Linked DNA regions of Homo sapiens: region 2 is linked to region 1. Evidence: promoter capture Hi-C in 16 types of primary human blood cells and fetal thymus (Javierre and others, 2016). All regions are on one chromosome and are shown on one strand. Each heading gives the region's core, a stretch centred on a gene start or on the middle of the fragment in contact. The rest is flanking DNA. Distances are from core to core; before and after follow the strand shown. Region 1 holds the start of PRPF3 (pre-mRNA processing factor 3). Region 2 overlaps RPRD2 (regulation of nuclear pre-mRNA domain containing 2).

Evidence for each region. Contacts are between HindIII fragments. The CHiCAGO score rates a contact against its expected background, and 5 or more counts as called.
Region 2: a contact is called between a fragment that was not itself captured here and the fragment with the promoter of PRPF3 in region 1, in 1 of 17 cell types (M1 macrophages). The highest score is 5.5, in M1 macrophages.

The regions. Positions count from the first base shown.
Region 1 is chr1:150,317,673-150,324,125 of GRCh38, reverse strand. It overlaps PRPF3 (pre-mRNA processing factor 3), which reads right to left and starts at 2,593. Exons shown (of 16, transcript NM_004698.4): 1 at 2,534-2,593. RefSeq lists enhancers at 2,495-2,544, 2,735-2,784, 2,914-3,479. The HindIII fragment of the contact is 20,070 bases long and covers 1-6,453 here.
Region 2 is chr1:150,465,816-150,472,268 of GRCh38, reverse strand. RPRD2 (regulation of nuclear pre-mRNA domain containing 2) reads right to left here. Exons shown (of 11, transcript NM_015203.5): 11 at 1-1,708. Among named protein-coding and RNA genes, the nearest start is that of TARS2, 18 kb to the left of the region's middle. The HindIII fragment of the contact is 7,293 bases long and covers 1,557-6,453 here.

The DNA of each region.
Region 1 (6,453 bases), core at 1,344-3,843:
GTCATCTTAGATATTAAATTAAATCTCATGATCTTTAAGAATGTTCTGGCCGGGCGCGGTGGCTCACGCCTGTAATCCCAGCACTTTGGGAGGCTGAGGCAGGTGGATCACGAGGTCAGGAGTTCAAGACCAGCCTGGCCAAGATGGTGAAACCCCATCTCTACTAAAAACTACAAAAAAATTTAGCTGGGCATGGTGGCAGGCGCCTGTAATCCCAGCTACTCGGGAGGCTGAGACAAGAGAATCACTTGAACCCAGGCAGCAGAGGTTGCAGTGAGCCAAGATCGCGCCACTGCACTCCAGCCTGGGCAACAGAGTAAGACTCCGTCTCAAAAAAAAAAAAAAAGAATGTTCTGTCACATTTCTCTGTGGTCATATTCATCCCAGTGGGAATTCTGCATACAGGTAATTATCATGTTCAATCTACAGGGTCTCCATCAGCTGACTTGATGATCCTTCAGCTCAGAAAAGAATACCCTCATTTTTATTTTGAGACAGAGTCTCACTCCGTCGCCCAGGCTGGAGTGCAGTGGCGTAATCTTGGTTCACTGCAACCTCCATCTCCTGGGTTCACTTGATTCTCCTGCCTCAGCCTCCCAAGTAGCTGGGACTACAGGCATGCACCACCACGCCTGGCCAATTTCGTAGTTTTAATAAAGACACGGTTTCACCATATCGGCCAGGTAATGCCTTACCTCAAGTGATCTGCCCACCTTGACCTCCGAAAGTTCTGGGATTACAGGCGTGACCCACTGCACCTGTCTCTACTAAAAATACAAAAATTAGCCAGGTGAGGTGGTGGGCACCTGTAATCCCAGCTACTTATGAGGCAGAGGCAGGAAAATCACTTGAACCCAGGAGGCGGAGGTTGCGGTGAGCCAAAATCATGTGCACTCCAGCCTGAGCGACAGAGTGAAACTGTGTCTCCAAAAAAAAAAAAAAAAAAAAAAAAGCCAGGTGCGGTGGCTCACGCCTGTAATCCCAACACTTTGGGAGGCCAAGGCGGGTGGATTATCTGACGTCAGGAGTTCGAGACCAGCCTGGCCAACATGGTGAAACCGCATCCCTATTAAAAATACAAATATTAGCTGGGCGTGGTGACCTGCACCTGTAATCCCAGCTACTCTGGAGGCTGAGACAGGAGAATCCCTTGAACATGGAAGGCGGAGGTTGCAGTGAGCCGAGATCGCACCACTGCACTCCAGCCTGGGCGACAGAGCAAGACTCCGTCCCGGGGAAAAAAAAAAAAGGTGTCTAAATGGGAGTCAATAAATTGACTGACCTCAATTTCCAAGCTCAGCTATTCCCAGCAGTGCCACTTATCAAAGATCTGGGAATCATCTTTCAAGATGTTTTAAGACATCTTTTCTCCAAAAAATCCAGTCTGATTAACTTCTACATTCTTGGTAAGTTTAGCCTCTATACTAGAGTCTATAAGACTTGATGCCAAATAGACTCACTTTTGGTATATCCAAAGGAAGCTAGTAGATTGAAGTGATGAAACTAAGACTGAAAGATTTTCTGCCTCAGTGACAAGTTACGTGAGTAATTCTATGGTGGTTCTATTACCCCACAATGAGTAGACATACAGCGTACCAATTTCTACATATTACACATGTATTGCACAAAAGCGGCATATCCAGATGCCATAGAAAGTGAAAACAAGAGTTCACACAGAAACAGTTGGGACACTGAGCCCCACCATTTACAAGCCCTTGGGCAAGTTAAGTAATTCTTTGGAGCCACAGTTTACCATCTTACAAAATGAGTACTGCCATATTTACATCCTAATTCATTCAATAAATATTTATTGAGTAACTACTAAGTGTCAAGCAATGTACTAGGTGCGGTGGATACATAAAACAGTGAGCAAAACTAACAAGAGTCCTCACCTTAACGGGTCTTATATTCCACTAGAATTGAATGATAGGCTAGAAAGTATAAGCAATTTGAAAGCCCAAAGCAATAAATGAGGTGCCACTGTTACCTCCATAAGATGACGTGCAAACTAAACAGCCAATGGATAAAAAAGTTTCAAACGGTAATTAGCCTTGTCACTAATCAAATGCTCAACAATAACTGCGAGGTGCGGGGGTAGTGGGGGTGCGGAAGGAAAGCGAGGTACAATGATCTCTCCTCTCAATGAGCAGGCAGCAGAATCCAAATCCAGTCTTCAGAAGGAATTCCTTACTCCGTGCTCTTGTTTGCTACAACCTGAGTTTCCCTCTGCAGCCCCCCACTCCCCCGCTAATCTTCATTTTTACTCTCTCCGTCACTCCAACCAGTCTCTTACTCTACCTTGTTCTACCTAAACTCCTCACCCCAGAGCTGGTCTCCCAACCCGGTCTCCTTCCCGCCCCCGCCCTTTTCCTCTCAACAATCTCATTCCAACCTCTTCTCCCACCAAACCAGGTACTCCTTTCACACTCCTTCCCGCTGAACCCTCCCGCTTCGGTCCTCCCCTTGGACTGAGTCCCCGGCCACAGTGGCGCGGACTGGAATTACCCTCTGTGGGCCCGGGGCCACTACTCACCTCACAAACTTCAGCCCCTGAGACGGAGCCCGAACGTTACACCGGAACCGGAAACCTTCTGACCGCCCTACGGCGTGCCGTCGCTACCGCCACCGCCGCCGCCACGCCGCTGTCTCCCAACACGTGACCAAGGAGGGCCGGGCCGCCAATTCGCGCAGCCGTATTTGCCACTTTCTTGGAGGCTGAACGCATGCGTCGCAGAACCGAAAAGTTTCCCTGAGCAATTTCCTTGCTTTCTATTTCCCAGGCTAAACCTATTAGCTAGATTTCTGCCAAGGTTTTTTTTTTAGCTTTTTTTTTGAGACGGAGTCTCGCTCTGTCGCCCAGGTTGGAGTGCAGTGACGCGATCTCGGCTCACTGCGAGCTCCGCCTCCCGGGTTCACGCCATTCTCCTGCCTCAGCCTCCCGAGTAGCTGGGACTACAGGCGCCCGCCACCACGCCCGGCTGATTTTTTGTATTTTTAGTAGAGCCGGGGTTTCACCGTGTTAGCCAGGATGGTCTCGATCTCCTGGCCTCGTGATCCGCCCGCCTCAGCCTTCCAAAGTGCTGGGATTACAGGCGTGAGCCACCGCGCCCGGCCGATTTCTGCCAAGTTAATGTCTTTAACTTCCTGAAGCGGAAATTGGGCTACTTGCTGTTTTCCTCATATGGAGAATAAGTGCGCAAAAGTAAACTTAGGCTAGAATGAAGAGCGAGGCTTCTGCGTTTGTGTTCAAACACAGCCTTTCTGGTAGAAAGTAAACCCTTTCTCCCTAATTTAACAGTGGTGTCAGGCCGGGCGCCGTGGCTCACGCCTGTAATCCCAGCACTTTGGGCTCAATAAATGACAAGTGAGACCTACCAGTATTGTTTTCTCCATTCTATCAATAGGTCTATATATTAACTTCTCTCCAAAATGAGGCTCTAACCTACTGACCCTTTATTTTTTATTTTTATTTTTTATTTTTTGAGACGGAGTCTCGCTCTGTCGTCAGGCTGGAGTGCATTCGGCTCACTGAAACTTCCGCCTCCCGAGTAGATGGGACTACAGGCGCGCGACCACCACGTCCAGCTAACTTTTGTATTTTTAGTAGAGACGGGGTTTCACCATGTTGGCCAGGATGGTCTCCATCTCTTGACCGCGTGATCCGCCCACCTCGGCCTCCCAAAGTGCTGGGATTACAGGGTTGAACCACCGCGCCCGGCCCCTACTGACTCTTTAAATCGATGATTCATAACAACATGTGTGTGGACAAAGATAGTTTGGAAAAAGATTGTCCAGTATTATGACACAATTTCTTATATGAGAAATGGAAAAAATTCCATTATTTTTATATTATAAACTATCCAAACTAAAGTTCCAAAATGTCTTCTTGGTGGTAGGCTGACTAGAAGATGCAGTTGTTCTTCAGGGAGGTTATTCACATTCCCCAGATAGTAGGAGATTTTTGTATCTAAAGATAACAATGTACATACCAAGCCCCACCTTCCCTGATGGGGCAGCACGACATAACAGGATAAAGCCTGGCTCTGAAGGAACAAGTTGGGGGAGTTTGAACCTACTGCTCAACTTATTCACAAATCAGTTTCCCCACCTACAGCTTCTAACACCAATGTCTCACAAAATATTCACTCAAAAAGTCTGTTGAATGGGTTAATGAGTTTCAACATTGCAGGGTTGTTGTAAATTTATTTTGTTTTGGTGCTTCTAACAGTCTGCGTTCAATTCCCTATGGAGAAATGTGTTTCTAGAAACTGGTTTTAGGCCAGGTGTGGTGGCTTACGCCTGTAATCCCAACACTTTGGGAGGTCGAGGCGGGTGGATCACTTGAGGTCAGGAGTTTGAGACCAGTCTGCCGACATGGTGAAACCCCATCCCTACTAAAAAAAATGCAAAAATTAGCTGGGTGTGGTGGTGGGCACCTGTAATCCCAGCTACTCAGGAGGCCGAGGCAGGAGAATTGCTTGAACCCGGGAGGTGGAGGTTGCAGTGAGCCAAGATCGCGCCACTGCACTGCAGCCTGGGCGACAGAGGGAGACTCCATCTCGACAAAACAAAACTGATTTTATTTCCAATTTTTAGAATTGGATACATTTAAACTGTAGCTTTCCGGTTACTAGCTGTGTTTCCTTCAGGTAATTTTTTCTGAGATTGTTTCCTCAATTATAGAATAAGAATCTCTACTTCAAAAAGGTATCGTGAGGATTAAATGTAATGTGTAAGACACAGTGTGGTACTGGCGTAAGAACAGGCAGGTAAACCAACAAAAGAGAATAGAGGGTCGGGCGCGGTGGCTTACGCCTGTAATCCCAGCACTTTGGGAGGCCGAGGTGGGCAGATCACGAGGCCAAGAGATCGAGACCATGCTAGCCAACATGGTGAAACCCCGTCTCTACTAAAAATACAAAAATCAGCTGGGCGTGGTGGCACGCGCCTGTAGTCCCAGCTACTCCGGAGGCTGAGGCAGGAGAATCACTTGAACCCGGGAGGTGGAGGTTGCAGCCAGCCGAGATTGCACCACTGCGTTCCAGCCTGGTGTCAGAACGAGACTCTGTCTCAAAAAAAAAAAAAAAAAAAAGGAAGAATAGAGAGCCCAGAATAAACACTCACATATATGGTCAGCTGTATTTTTTTTCTTTTTCTTTTTTGAGATGGAGTTTCGCTCTCATTGGCCAGGCTGGAGTACAATGGCGCGATCTCGGCTCACCGCAACCTCCGCCTCCCAGGTTCAAGCAATTCTCCTGCCTCAGCCTCTGGAGTAGCTGGGATTACAGGCAAGCGCCACCACGCCAGGCTAATTTTGTATTTTTTTTCTTCTTTGTTTTGAGACGAGTCTCGCTCTGTTGCCCAGGCTGGAGTGCAGTGGCACAGTCTCAGCTCACTGAAACCTCCGCCTCCTGGGTTCAAGCAATTCTTCTGCCTCAGCCTCCTGAGTAGCTGGGACTACAGGTGTGTGCCACCACGCCCGGCTAATTTTTTGTGGTTTTAGTAGAGACGGGGTTTCACCGTGTTAGCCACGATGGTCTAGATCTCCTGACCTCGTGATCTGCCCGCCTCGGCCTCCCAAAGCGCTGGGATTACAGGCGTGAGCCACTGCACCCGGCCTCATTTTGTATTTTTAGTAGAGACGGGGTATCTCCATGTTAGTCAGGCTCGTCTCGAACTCTGGACCTCAGGCGATCTGCCTGCCTCGGCCTCCCAAAGTGCTGGGATTACAGGCATAAGCCACCGTGCTCGACATTTTTTTTTTTAGACGGAATCTCCCTCTGTTGCCCAGGCTGGAGTGCAGTGGCTCAATCTTGGCTCACTGCAACCTCCACCTCCTGGGTTCAACCAATTCTCCTGCCTCAGCCTCCCGAGTAACTGGGACTACAGGCGCATGCCACCATGCCCAGCTAATTTTTTTGTATTTTTATTAGGGGTTTCACCATATTGGCCAGGCTGGTCTCAAACTCTTGACCTCGTGATCTGCCCACCTCAGCCTCCCAAAATGCTGGGATTACAGGCATGAGCCCCTGCACCTGGCCATGGTCAGCTGATTTTTGACAAAGGTGCCAAGGCTATTCAATGTGGAAAGGACAGTCTGTTTAACAAATGATGCTGGGAAAAGCAGATATCCACAAACATAAGAGTTAAATTGGACCCCCTACCTCATACCGTATACAAAAATTAATTCAAAATGGATCTAAGACCTAAATTTAAGAAATATACAAAAACTAGAGGTCGGGCACAGTGGCTCACCCCTATAATTTCAGCATTTTGGGAGGCTGAGGCTGGAGGATGACTTGAGGTCAGGAGTTCAAGACCAGCCTGGCCAACATGGTGACTCAATCCCCGTCTCTTCTGAAAATAGAAAAATTTACCAGGTGTGGTGGCACACTCTTGTAGTCCCAACTACTTGGGAAACTGAGGCAGGAGAATCGCTTGAACCCAGGAGGC
Region 2 (6,453 bases), core at 3,954-6,453, 150 kb before region 1:
TCTACGGTCTGGATCGGCTCCCCTGACATCCTCCTATTGGATGCACTGTGATAACCCAAGGTTTCTATAGGGGCCCCCTTTTCTTCTGTGCTATCAGGCAAGTCTAAGCAGGAGGAGGAGACGCGGGTTTCTATGCGGTAGTGCTCTTCTTGTTGCTGCTGATCAGTGGCGGTCAAGCTGGGTTGGGTGAGGTTTGAGAGACTGACACCATCACTTGGAGTGCCCTTGCTGGGAGCCTGGCCAAAATGCTTATCATCTGAGGGCTTACGTGAGGCGTTTTTAAGCATATTCTTAAATTCAATCGTCGACGTGGTGGAAATGGTGGAGGCCAGGACTTTCTCCACGCCTGACGTGGGTGGGTGACCCGTGGGAGCGGCAAGGGTGTTCTGCGGAGAGAAAAGGGAACGATGTGGGACTGGGTGAGGAGAGTCTGGGTACTGCTTCTGTGGCAAACTGAGATGCCCAGTGGTAGATTGAGACAAGCTATTGTGGTTGGAGTCAGGGGTGAAAAATGAATCATTCTTACTCGGTGATGGTGACCGGTCAGACCCAGGTTCATTCCCTCTTACGCTGAAGGCACCAAATAGCCCAGGGGAAGATGAGAGACGGTCACAGTTCTCACTAGAGTCCAGGAGGGCCCTTACAGATGGAGGGAAGGCAGACTTTACCCCAAATTCTTGGGCTCTGTGGCTATAACTGGACAGAATTGGCTGGTACTCGGTGGTATCAGACAGCTTGCTTGATTTCAGGATAGATTTGGCTGGTTTCTTCTCTAGGTTCATCATGGCAGAGGGTGGAGGCCCTGAATACTCAAAATCTCGGTAATCCTCATCTTCTTGGAAAGAAGTATCTGGGTAGAACTTTTCCTGTGAAGAGTCCATCAGGGAAGATGGTCTCTCCATTCCATCAGAAGGCTGCTTATAGGGAGATTCACTGCCCAGACCAAAGGGTCGATATGTAGATACAGAATTGGAGAGCTCTCGGGGGTAGCTTTCATCTCTCCCAGGGGGTGGTGATCTTGTACTGCTGGGTGTTGAGGAACCAGGGCTAATGATCTTAGAAAGCAGGGACATAGTATCTACACTGCTGGATGTGGGCTTGTCCATCATCTCATCCTGGGTGGGTGTCCCACTCCGTTCATCCCGTACAGGGGTTCCATCAATGTTGTCGATTGAGGTGCTAGTAGGGCCACGCTGGAAGTCTGAGGGATGGCTCTCTGATGGGGCGCTGGACCCCAAACTGCTCAGGATTGGGATGTTTAAGTTTAAGCCACTGAAACCAGGATTACCTTTTAAGAAGTTGTGAATCTTCATTTCCAGGCTTGGGGAGGTGGACTCTGACTCCAGCTTTGGCTTGGAGACCTCTGAAGATTGGCAGATGGTAACTTCAGTAGGTGGGGCAGCAGGGCTAGTATTGTGGGTAGCTGTAAACCCCAAAGAGTTGGAAGGTAGTTTAAAAGTAGTGCTTGGGAGCCCTGGGCTTTGCCCAATTGAGGCCTTGCTGGCTGAAGTTGAAGAGACTTCAGAAGTTGATGAGTTAGGAGAATAGTTGAAGCTTTTGGGAATAAAAGGTTGGGCACTGGAGGGCAGATTTCTTCCCTTTATGGTAGAGACTGTGGTGTTGGCAGGGGAGGCTGAAGTGCTCTGTGAGGCAGCTTCACTGGCTGGAACTGGGTTCCCAGTAACACTCTGAAGTAAAGATGACAGGCCTGTAGAAACAAAGATTAGAGGGGTTAAAAAGAACAACTCCCTATCATACAATGCAAACAATGTAGGCTAATCAGATACTCTCATTCATTTTGGTGGGAACCAGATAGACAAAGTGTAAGGCCAAAAGGAATCCAGACCAAACAAGCAATGGCTAAATGTCACAGAAAATACAGGGCCTATTTTATCAATAAAGAGCAAATCACTGAAATGTTTCCAGTACAGTCCAGAAATCAGCCCAACATGGCACAATAAAAGGCAACAGGAAGGGGGAGATTTTAATGTCAGAATCATTCATAGTTTAAGTTAGGCAAAGCAGGAAAAGAAAGGAGGCAAAGTTATTCTTAAAACAACACTTTAAGCCAGTATTTCTTAATGTTTGATCTGTGGAAGTGTTTCTCTAAATGCAAACAGATCTGTTCTACCTTTCCTGTCCAACCTTCAAACCAACCTTCAACCTTCAAACTTATTATCTCTAATAAGTTAATATACATTGTTATTTTCAAGCGGGAGACAGGCAAATGCAAATTTCAGAAACTTATCTGAACAGCAAACACCTTTTTCAAGAAGCACCTCTTGGTAGACTGTTGTTACTTTTTGAAAAACAATGCTTTCAACCATCCGTTTTGGTTGTAAAATGTAGCTATAACAAACATACACCACAAAGACTTACAAAGACAGACCACCAGGGACACTGGTCCTTTCACAAGAAAACACACAATCCCCATTTTATAGTGTGGAAAATCCAAGGATTATTTAGTCCAGATTGACAATGATGGAATTTAACTGTGTTCACTGACAGTCAAAACTTTCTCAGAAGCACTGAGAAAGAATTCTTTGGGGCAAAGGCTGAAGTTCAACAAAGCAAACTGCTCCTGTAGAAAATTTTTTAGAAAAATATTTGACAAAAAGATAACAGAAGGTTCTATAAATTCAATCATATTTTTAAAAATTTACCCAATTTCTGGTCACAAATGAAGACTTTTGGCTGGGCACGGTGGCTCATGCCTGTAATCCTAGCATTTTGGGCAGCAGAGGCAGGAGGATGGCTTGAGGCCAGGAGTTTGAGACCAGCCTGGGAAACACAGAGAGACTCTGTCTCTAAAAAAAATTTAAAAATCAGCTGGGCATGATGGTGCATGCCTGTAGTCCTAGCTACTCAGGAGGCTGAGGCTGGAGAATCACTTGTGCCCAGTTCAAGGTTACAGTAAACTAACTATGACTCTGCCACTGCACACCAGCCTGGGTGGCAAAGTGAGTCTCTGTATTTAAAAATAAATTAATTAAAAAAATTTTTAATATACATTTCACCCAAATTTATAGCTTTTAGTCACTGAATACACTAACATTGTTCCTTAGTAATTATATGATTAAAGAAAATACTTCATGTGATATTTCAATTAACATTTCTTCAAAATTTCAATTTTAACCCATATTCTAACAGATTTGGCCTAAAGAATTTCAAGTCCCCTCCATCCTTGTAACATTTTAAAGCCATTTATTTCTAAATAATGTTGGATGGTCTTTATTGTTATCCAATATTCAGTAATATCCAAACAACTGAAATAATGTTTACTTTAGTTATGATCCTTCTGAAGAAAAAAAAAAATCGGCATGTTTCATTCCAAAAAAAGTTCCCTAGCCACATAATTCATCCCTACTAATAGTTTCCTTTTTTTTTTTCAAGAGACAGGCTCTTGCTCTGTCACCCAGGCTGGAGTGCAGTGGTGCGATCATAGCTCACTGTAACCTCAACCTCTTGGGCTCAAAAGATTTATCTGCCTTAGCTTCCTGAGTAGCTGGGACCACAGGTGTACATCACTATGCCCAGCTAACTTTTTTATTTTTAGTAGAGACAAGGTCTCACCATGTTGCGCAGGCTGATCTCAAAATCTTGGGCTCAAGTGATTGTCCCACTTCAGCCTCCCAAAGTGCTGAGATTACAGGCGTGAGCCACCATGCCCAGCCTGATTTAATTCTTAGTAATCACTGTTCTCACAAAACCCAGAAGTCCTCAAACACTAGAATGTGATATATAATAATGTAATATGATTTTTAGAAGATATTTCAGCATATTTTTCAGATATTTTGGGATAACTTCTTCAAAAGAACATCTTTTTAAGATAGATATACTACTCAGATTTCTGGTAATAGGTAAAATTGTCTCTCACCACTAAATATTACTGTTCTCCAATCTTTTTTTTTTTTAATTATTTTTAAAAATTCTTAAAAACAATAGAGATAGGGGTTTTGCTATATTGACCAGGCTGGTCTCAAACTCCTGGCCTCAAGTGATCCTCCCATCGTGGCCTCCCAAAGTGTTAGGATTACAGGCATGAGCCACTGCGCCCAGCCAAAAGTTTGCTCTTTAATCATAACAAGTCATACTCTGCTCCTTTGCCCACTGAAGTTTCTCTTTTTTTGAGACAGAGTTTTGCTCGTCGCCCAGGCTGGCTCACTGCAACCTCTGCCTTCCGGGTTCAAGCGATTCTCCTACCTCAGCCTCCCAAGTAGTTGGGGTTACAGCTGTGAGCCACCACGCCCAGCTAATTTTTTTGTATTTTTTTTTGGAAAGACAGGTTTACCCTGTTGGCCAGGCTGGTCTTGAACTCCTGACCTCAGGTGATCCACCCGTCCCCAAAGTGCTGGAATTACAGGTGTGACCCACCACACCGGGCCTGAAGTCTCTCTTTTGTGTTATAAATCTGTCAATACCTAGGGCTGTGGATGACACAATCAGAACAAAGTTCTGGGATTTCATTAACAGTCTTCGAGGAAATACATCTATTTAACTTGCTAGATACAATCCTTTTAAAAGTCAAAGAGAATTCCACATTCCATAAGGAACCTAGTTCTGTTCAAATTTTGCCTCATCAGAAATTTCACATCGGCCAGGCACGGTGGTTCACACCTGTAATCCCAGCACTTTGGGAGGTCGAGGCAGGTGGATCACGTGAGGTCAGGAGTTCGAGACCAGCCTGGCCAACATGGCGAAACCCCGTGTCTACTAAAAATACAAAAATTAGCCGGGCATGGTGGTGTGAGCCTGTAATACCAGCTACTCGAGAGGCTGAGGCAAGAGAATCACTTGAACCCGAGAGGCAGAGGTTGCAGTGAGCCGAGATCACACCACTGCACTCCAGCCTGGGCAACAGAGCAAGTCCCCGTCTCAAAAACAAACAAACAAATAAAAATAAAAAGGGAGAAAGCATAAACATGTCAAACTCTCAAATTGTCCCTGATATTAGTAGTACAACATGTGCTGCAGTCATCATCAATTCTTTATTGCTGATGCCAATAGATAGGGGCTGTGGATTATTACTTAATACTATTTAGTTCTGTGTAACAAAATTCTTCTGCACCTCCAGACAAAGTTCACTATAATATGCTTGAATGATCCACTTACATAACAGTTTAGGAAACTGTTTTACACCACTCCTTTGATAGAGAGCAGGGTTTCTCAACCTCAGCACTACTGACACTTTGGGCTAGATAATTCTTTATTGTTGGGGCTGTCTCACACATTGTAGGATATTTAGGAGCATCCTCCTGGCCTCTACTCACTAGAGGCAGTAGCACCCCTACCATTACCCCAGTTGAGACAACTAAAAAGGTCTCCAAATATTGCCAAGTGTCCTCCCTGGAGGCCTTTGGTTGAGACTACTGATATAGAGTAAATCACTACACTGAATATATTGCCCTGGTATTTGTAATTCATTTCATAATTATACTACGGTACTTAAAAAGGATTTCATTGGTATCTGGAGCATAAGAGAGTAGAGAGTAGGAAAGATTTATGAAAAAAGGTTAGAAACAGGCAGTGTCATGCACAAAACATAATTAGTAAAGCTGAACAGAAAGGGTCAAATGAGAGAGATTATAGGTAGGTGAAAACAAAAATACTACATCTAAGACTCTAATAAAATAATAAATAAAATAATAAATAATGAAGCCTCTATAAAACATTAGGACAAAAAAAGATATATTCATGTCTCAGAAATTTTTTTTTTTTTTTTTTTGAGGCAGGGTCTCATCACTTAGGTTGGAGTACAGTGGGGTGACCACAGCGTACTGCAGCCTTGAACTCCTGGGCTCAAGTGATCCTCCTGCCTTAGCCCCCTGAGTAGCTGGAACTACAGGCATGCACCACTATGCCCAGCTAATTTTTTTTTTTTTTTTTTTTTTGAGACAGAGTCTTGCTCTTTTGCCCAGGCTGGAGTGTAGTGGGGCAATCTTGGCTCACTGCAACCTCCACCTCCTGGGTTCACACCATTCTCCTGCCTCAGCCTTCCAAGTAGCCAAGACTACAGGTGCCCGCCACCACGCCCGGCTAATTTTTTGTATTTTTAGTAGAGTCGGGGTTTCACTGTGTTAGCCAGGATGGTATCGATCTCCTGAACTCATGATCCGCCTGCCTCAGCCTCCCAAAGTGCTGGGATTACAGGCGTGAGCCACCGCGCCCGGCGCTAATTTTTAATTCCGTTGTAGAGACAGGGTTTCACTATGTTCTTGAAGCGTCATAAAAAAATTTTTTTTTTTTTTTTTTTTTTTGGACTGAGTCTTGCTCTGTCGTCCAGGCTGGAGTGCAGTAGCGTGATTCCGGCTTACTGCGATCTCAGCACACTACAGGTGTGTGTCACCACACCTGGCTAATTTTCATATTTTTAGTAGAGATGTTATTTCACCTGGTTGGCCAGGCTGGTCTTGAACTGCTGACCTTAGGTGATCTGCCCGCCTCAGCCTCCCA